Linked DNA regions of Homo sapiens: region 1 is linked to region 2. The links are contacts of gene promoters, found by promoter capture Hi-C in human tissues and cell types (Jung and others, 2019). All regions are on one chromosome and are shown on one strand. Each heading gives the region's core, a stretch centred on a gene start or on the middle of the fragment in contact. The rest is flanking DNA. Distances are from core to core; before and after follow the strand shown. Region 1 holds the start of NUP133 (nucleoporin 133). Region 2 holds the start of RHOU (ras homolog family member U).

Region 1 (3,621 bases), core at 868-3,367, 770 kb before region 2:
CATGCAAAAATAGGTAGCCCCAGTGATTCTCTCTCATACACTTTGCTCTTTTATTTCATAGTACACATCTCAGCTTGTAGCTGGATATTTGTGTTCATTTTTTCAGTGTCTGTCTTTCTCATTGGTCTGTAATCTCCATGAGGGTAGGACCCATGGGCTTTGTTTAGTTATAAGCCTTAGCAATTATCACATAGCCTGGCACATGGTAGGTACTCACTAAATCCATAACGAATGGATGACTTTTAGTGCTGTCTGCTTACTATCCTTCAATAGCCATACATTTGGACTCCAGGCAAGTTCTTGCTCAAAGGTGGCTGACAAGTCATTCTAGCTCCTGCAAACAACAGCTTTTACATTAGGATGCTGGGGAAACCACTAACCAGTCCAACAAAGCACAAGAATAAAATTGATCCCACCAATCCTCTCAGACACAACTATTAATACTCTCTATTGCCTATTTCACACCCCTCCTTGTAAGAATGAAACAGGGAGGAAATGCACTGGGCTCTCAGAGCTATAAGACTCAACAAGCTGCCAAGTTGGGTTAGACACCCAGGTGGGAGAAGGAGTAAAGCAGCTAGCCTATGTAACCTTGGCAAGATGACTGCTCAGATGCCACTGGTGCATAGATAGATGACTGGCTTCCCAGGGGAATGTCAACAACTGACACCCACACTGTGGTCTCCCACATGTGAATACGTCAATGTTTACTTAACCATTCCCTTATTTCAACACACGTTGAATGAAAGTCTACTATGTGTCTGTTACTGTGTGCCACAAAGGTAACAAAGTCACTGCTCTTGCTGTCAAGACATTTAAAAGGAAGTACTTGACAGACAATTATGAAAACAAACTATTATGCAGGATAAAAATACAGTCTACACACAGGAGCAGAGAGGACAAAGGATAAGGGGGACCTAATCCTGTGGAAGGTTTCACTGAGAAGGCAGCACAGAACTAACTTGATGCGGAAGGTAGGCGCCTTCTGGACCAACAAGGCAGGGAGTGCATTCCAGGTGAGAGAAACATGGACATGGGCACTGGAGGGAGATTTGGGTTTTTAAGTTCTCGGAATGTGGAGTGCAAGTGGGAAGTGCTGGAAGTACAACACGGACGGAAAAGCCAACCTGACTTAGATCACATAGGACCTTGCAAAGGAGCTTAGCAAATAACCTACTGGCAATGGTCAGCCACTGAAGCATTTACAGGCCCAAGAGCAGCATTACGTTTGCCTTAATTCATTGTGTTGGCAGTGAGAAGATAGAGTGGAGGAAGACTAGACACAGGTAAGGAACCCTCTCCCCATCTCCCCTACTCCCTCCCGCTGGCAGAAGAGGCTACGCAGTGGTTGAGGGAAAGGTAAGTACCAGAACCAGGGCAGAGGCAGTGCAAATGTGTGATCTAGTACAGACACGTAGGACCTTACAACGTATACCATGATCTTAGGGTGGAGGTAGGTGTGAGGGATGACTGCAGATAGAGCTCTTCTCTTTGCCTTGGACAACTGGCCAGTTTTACCAAGCTGGAACAGAGATGGTGGTAGGAGAGGGGTCCTAAAGGAAAACATGAATGCGCTTTTCATAAGTGGATTGTGAGGAGTTCGCAGGACTTCCAGCTGAAATTGTCCCCTAGGGAGCTGAATGATAGGGGTCTGGGGGTTTTGAGCTGGATCCAGGTTAGAGACACGGATTTGTGGCGTCATCAGCGTGGATGAGACTGCGCAAAGTTGAATGGGAAAATGGCAAACCTAGAAAACAACAAATATCACAGTGCGATACCAGTGTCAGCTTTACGGCTTTTCTCCGTCCTCAGCTTGGAATGAGGAACATCTTTCATTTCACAAGAGGTTCAGGAACTACCAGTGTGAAAAGAGGCTACGTTCAAGCTGCTGGAGGGCCAGTTCCACCTAGGCGCAGTCAAGAAGGGCGCCTGGCTTTCCGGCTTCACGTCCCTGGAAGCTCGGCACTGCAGCGGTTCTAGATCTGGGGCCGCCGGCTGCCTTCCCGACCTACCTCGCTGACTGGGCACCGCCCTTAACGTCACGATCCCGCCCCCGCCAGCGCTCCGACCACAACCCGCGGGAGCCATTGCGTTTGACGTCATCATCGCGCGCCATCTCTTCCCTTAGGTGTTTAAGTTCCGCGCGCAGGCCAGGCTGCAACCTGACGGCCAGATCCCTCGCTGTCCTAGTCGCTGCTCCTTGGAGTCATGTTCCCAGCCGCCCCTTCTCCGCGGACCCCGGGTACCGGGTCCCGAAGGGGCCCGCTGGCCGGACTCGGGCCCGGCTCCACGCCCCGGACGGCTAGCAGGAAGGGTCTGCCCCTGGGGTCTGCAGTCAGCTCCCCAGTGCTCTTCTCGCCGGTCGGCCGGCGTAGCTCGCTAAGCTCGCGGTAAGTGATCTCCCTGGTTGGGTCTGGCAACCAACAGCCTCACGGGCCGCAGTGGGCCGGATAGGTTGTTGTCTTTAGAAGCCTTTGGAACCGGGGCGGCGGAATAGAATGCCACAGTATTGGAAAATAGACCTTTTCCACTGCTGCAGGTAGTATCTGCTTCGTTTTGATTATCAGTTGATCAGTTGATTCCCCACTTTGCATTTTTCATGGATACCTTTGTGCAGAAGTGAAGTACAAACTGGATTTGCATCAGTGTTTACCTACTTCCCACCTACTACCCGTGTGATCTGGTGTAAGTCACTCGTGATTTTCTTCATCTGTGAAATGGCGATAATATATCTCACCTGAGCCAGAGGAGTTATTATGAATTGCCACGATGCAGATGTAAGGTGATGGTGATAATGAGGACCTACAACCCTGAAAGATCATTGTTTAATGCCTAACATACCAACTGACATTAATATCTGATGATTGGTAATTAAAGGGTTTCTAGCTACGGAATTTAACTTTCTAGGTAAATTATAAGGAAAAGGCTTTACATAAGTGAGCTAAGAGTACTGTGATAGTTTAGTTACTAAAACTGCTCGTTTGGAGCACCAGTAAAATCATCACACACACACACCCCTCCCCACCCCCAACACACACCATGTTCATAATTAACCTAAAACTTTAGTGTTTCTGCATAGTTTTCTCTGAATTCATCTATAAAAAATGAATTTTTCCCTGCAGGAAACACAAAGTATTGTGTCTTGAAATTATGGTTAAAATTTATCTGTAAAATTTTTCAGTACTTTAAAGGAGAAGTGGTTTTGAAAGAATACACTGTATCTTTGACTTTTTTTGGCATATTTTGAAAAGTTCTTTTCAAAGTGCTGATCTTGTCAGTGTTTTCTATTCCTTTTGCGAAAAGTTGGAGAATAAAAGCATACTTTATTTACTGTGTGTTGTTTTATTTAAATCTCTTCTTGTGATCATTTGAAGAAAAACCTTTGTTATCCTCTGTCAGGAAACAAAGCCCTTAGCCCTTCTGTATGTGCATCTTCTCATTTAATTCTCGTGATAAGACATAGACTACCTTTTATTCTGGTGACTTTACAATATTCTAAATGTTAAGAGGGTGAGCAAGAAATAAAGTTTTTACTGTGATATCTGCTGTTGAGGACCATGTAACAGCTGATGCTCGTAACCTGTTCGATTTCTTGCTTGGTTGTACAGATCTGATAGTTTT
Region 2 (3,611 bases), core at 1,040-3,539:
TCCTTTCCCAGCACTGAGCTGTAACGTGATACTGACCTGTCCGGCAGTGTCACAGAGTTGGAGTCTCACGGGCCGCCCATCCACAGACACCACCGCTTAAAAACAAAACCAAAATGACAATCAGGAGGTGTCTTTTAACCCCTTTCGGAATACTAATAGTTTTAGCTTTCACTATCATTCTCACTCCAAACCCCTTTGCTCCTATTTTAGGTCCTCTAATGAATTAAAGACTAGCCAAAAACAAGGAGGCCCTGTGGAGGCATTTTTGTATACAAACCCACGGCTGGCAAGTCACTCCATTACCGTGAACCAGGCAGCAAATCCCTGAACGCTTTGATGGTGACCCTAAAAAGGCCTATGCTTTTCTCCCAGTCCTGGAAGATTTATTTTCCTGTCACACTTGTTTCAAAGGACCTAAAAACAACACTGGGGGTAAATGGGAAGCAACCCTGCAGTTTTAAATCAGTGGAAAACCTCACAAATAATTCTGTTTTCCCTTGGGAAAGGTTCCCCAACTTCAGGGTTTATCATACAATTCTAGTGTGTTTTGAGAACATGTGCAAACACAGGCTGCCCGCATTGTCCTGTTTAAGAAATGAGGGCACTCCTTATCTCTATGTCAGGTCAAAAGGAGGATTAAAAAAGAAAAAAGAAAGCCATGGCCCCCTTTCCACTGGGATCCGGGGACTCGGGGAGTGTGGAGAGGCCTGCAGCAGGACATGTTGTGGAGGTTTCTATTTTAATTAAGCAGTCAGTTTTGTCTCTTTCTACACAACTTTCTAATTGTTTCTAAATATTTATACTAGTCAGCTGCAGGGGTGGGGTGGGGGGAGGGGAAGAAACAATACCCTGCGGTGGGAACCCACCAGTACAGCACCCATTTCTCTAAGGTACCTTTGGGATGAAAGGAAGGTCAGAGAAGCAATTTTTTTTTAAAGAAGCAAGACAGTTAAGTGTTTCATACTAGTTTCTGTGAATTTTAACTTTTTCTTAAATTTCAAAAAGACCTGAATAGCAAGATAGAGAATTCCTTTCTCTTTGTATCTACCAAGGGAAATGGCATCGCACCCGGTACATAGGAGCTTTAAGTAGCTTAAAGGGATCCTGAAAAGATACCAACAATCAGAATCCGAGCCCATGTGGGCAGGGAAGGTGGTGGGGCTCAGAAGAAAGAAATGGTGTTTACTCTTCAGGTTTCATCCAAACCTAAGCCTTCACGAGGGCCGCTCGCGCTTTTTCACTAAATCAAGTGTTTTCCCGGCGTCTCCGCGGCTCTTTAAAGCGGAGACGCCCCTTGTGAGCTGAGCCGCCTAAAAGCAAAGGAGCGACGCTCAGGTAAAGGCACCTGCGCGTCACCTTCTGATTGAAACTCTGCAGCGGCGCCAGCGACGTCGCCCTCAGGAAACTTTGCTCTATGCAACAAACTGACCGGGCACCCTGAACTCAACCTGTTTCACTCCTACTTATCTGTTGCTTAAATTGTGAGATTTTTTTTTTTTTTTTTTTTGGCAAGGCTCTGACTGCCGCTCCGCCCTCCTCTCTCCAAGCCCACTCCGCCGTGGTCCTTTCGTGTTAGCTCCGCGCTTGCCCGGTCCCTGAGACTCAGGAAACGTCCTGCACTCCTCATTTGTCCGGCTTCCCAGCTGGAGCCGCGCCCGGGGCCCTGCAGCCCCCTTGGGAACCTCGCGACCCTCGCGCCACCTTCCTTCCCCTGGGTGGACCGCGGCCACGCGCCCCCGGCCCCGGCCCCCCGGCCAGCTCACCGGAGAAGTTGTCGAAGGCAGTAGGGATGTACTCGGTGGGGTAGCCGTTGGTGGTGTAGCTCACCACCAGGCTCGTCTTGCCCACCGCGCCGTCGCCGACCAGCACGCACTTGACGCCGCGCCCCTCGGCACCCCCCGCACGCCCCCGGCCCCCCGGCTCCCCAGGCCCGCGTCCCCCGCGTCCACCGCGCTCCCGACGCGGCGGCACCGGAGGCGCCTCGCAGCGGTCGGGGAACGCGGGGTCCCCCTGCTGCGGGGGCATCGATCCGCGAGCGCGGGCTTGCGGTCGCGGGCTAGCAGGGCCCGGCCCGACCGCCCCTCCGCCCCGGAGGGTTGCGGTAGGGAGGAGCTGTCACCGACAGCTGCGGGCGCGTCCCCGGCCCTGGAGAGTGGCGGTTCCGGGCCGCACGGCCAGTAGACAAAGGCGGCCAGGGAGGGTCGTGGCTCCGCGCTCCGGCGGCGCCAGCCGCTCTGCCCTGCGCTGTTGGAGGACAGCGGTCCGAGCGCCGTGGATCCCAAGCGCTCTGTCTCCGCCCGGCTTCCCGGCGACACGACGCGTGGGGGGCGGGCAGGCGGGCGGGCTGGCGGGGAGGGAAAAGAGGCGGGTCTGGCCGAGCGGCTCGGTCCCCGCGCCAAGACCACAGCGCCCCCCGCCTGCGCGCCGCGCGCCTGCACCCGCGCCCGAGGCGCCGCCGCGACCAGGCGGGGACTGCGAACACTGGCGCGGGAGGACCTGGAACACACGTTCCGGGGGACCCCGCGCACCCGGTCCGGGAAGCGACGCCCGAAGGAGCCGGGCCAGCCTCCGCAGCCTCCTCCCCAGCTCCCAAGAGGGTGACCACCGCGCGACTGGCCCGGGAGGTTCCGCTTTCTGGCGCCCACGCGAGCCAGGAAGCCTGAGCCGCCTCCTATTCACTCCGTGGAGCCCCCGGCTGGCCACGGCTCCACCCAGGGGGAAAAATGAAGTGTCCTGGAGGCCTGTCCTGCGAATGAGATTGAATTAACAGACAGCTTTTTTCCTTAAGTCTAACTGCAGCTGATCGTGTGATTTTTTCTCATTTTGAAGCAAAAGGATGCCAGCTCCATTGTGAATGCTCCTTTGACTTTGTCTTTCGGCATGCCGTGAACCTTTATACATGTATGCTCCAGAAATTTTTTTATACCCCCAATTCCTTCATTTACTTAAAGGTAATTCGGAGACATTAATATGTCTGAAAAAATATTCCGTTTCCCTTTGATTCATTTCTCTCTCTGCCTTCCTTCTACATGTGGTCAACAGTCTATTCAGAAAAAGGACGCCTCTTAGCCAAGTCAGAATACCAAGAGTCCTGGGGGTGTACAGCGTGGTGTGAGAAGGGCCACATATTATTAATACACATTGATACTAGTGGTAGTAAAAATAACAATAACAAATACTGAACTTTCATAATGTGTCAGATACTGTTGTAAGCACTCTTCAAGAACTAATTCTTTTAATCTTAACATTACTTACAGATGAGAACACCTGAGGCACAGAGATATTAAGTAACGTTTTGGGATTCCACAAGCTAGTAAGTGGCAATGCCAGGATCCAAACCCAAATAGTCTAGCCCCAGAGCCTGAGCTTCTAACCAAAATCCTGGAGGCAAAAATAAGTCAGTATGATAAACGTAATCTTGAACGTATGGCCATGGTCAGAATGCAGAGATGGATTTATCAAGAAGTTAGAAGCTTGAATCCAGGACCCCTGACTTGCAAAGGACACTTTCACATTGGAAGACCTAGCAATGTGTACACGTGGTAATATGTTTCTGTAAATTTTGAAAAAAAAAAAAGTATTTTAATCACCACCAGTTATGTTCACTGTCT

Evidence for each region. The method cuts DNA at HindIII sites, captures the fragments that hold promoters and counts their contacts. A contact is called where the count stands out against the background at its distance.
Region 1: a contact is called between the fragment with the promoter of NUP133 here and the fragment with the promoter of RHOU in region 2, in 1 of the 25 tissues and cell types used here (small bowel).

What each region holds. Positions count from the first base shown.
Region 1 is chr1:229,506,837-229,510,457 of GRCh38, reverse strand. NUP133 (nucleoporin 133) reads left to right here and starts at 2,117. Exons shown (of 26, transcript NM_018230.3): 1 at 2,117-2,390. The coding sequence starts at 2,209. NUP133-DT (NUP133 divergent transcript) reads right to left here and starts at 2,028. Exons shown (of 3, transcript NR_110630.1): 1 at 1,779-2,028; 2 at 218-334. RefSeq lists silencers at 962-1,256, 2,197-2,426 and an enhancer at 2,027-2,146. The HindIII fragment of the contact is 14,911 bases long and covers 1-3,621 here.
Region 2 is chr1:228,734,157-228,737,767 of GRCh38, reverse strand. It overlaps RHOU (ras homolog family member U), which reads right to left and starts at 2,289. Exons shown (of 3, transcript NM_021205.6): 1 at 1,764-2,289; 2 at 37-95. The coding sequence starts at 2,025. The HindIII fragment of the contact is 9,114 bases long and covers 1-3,611 here.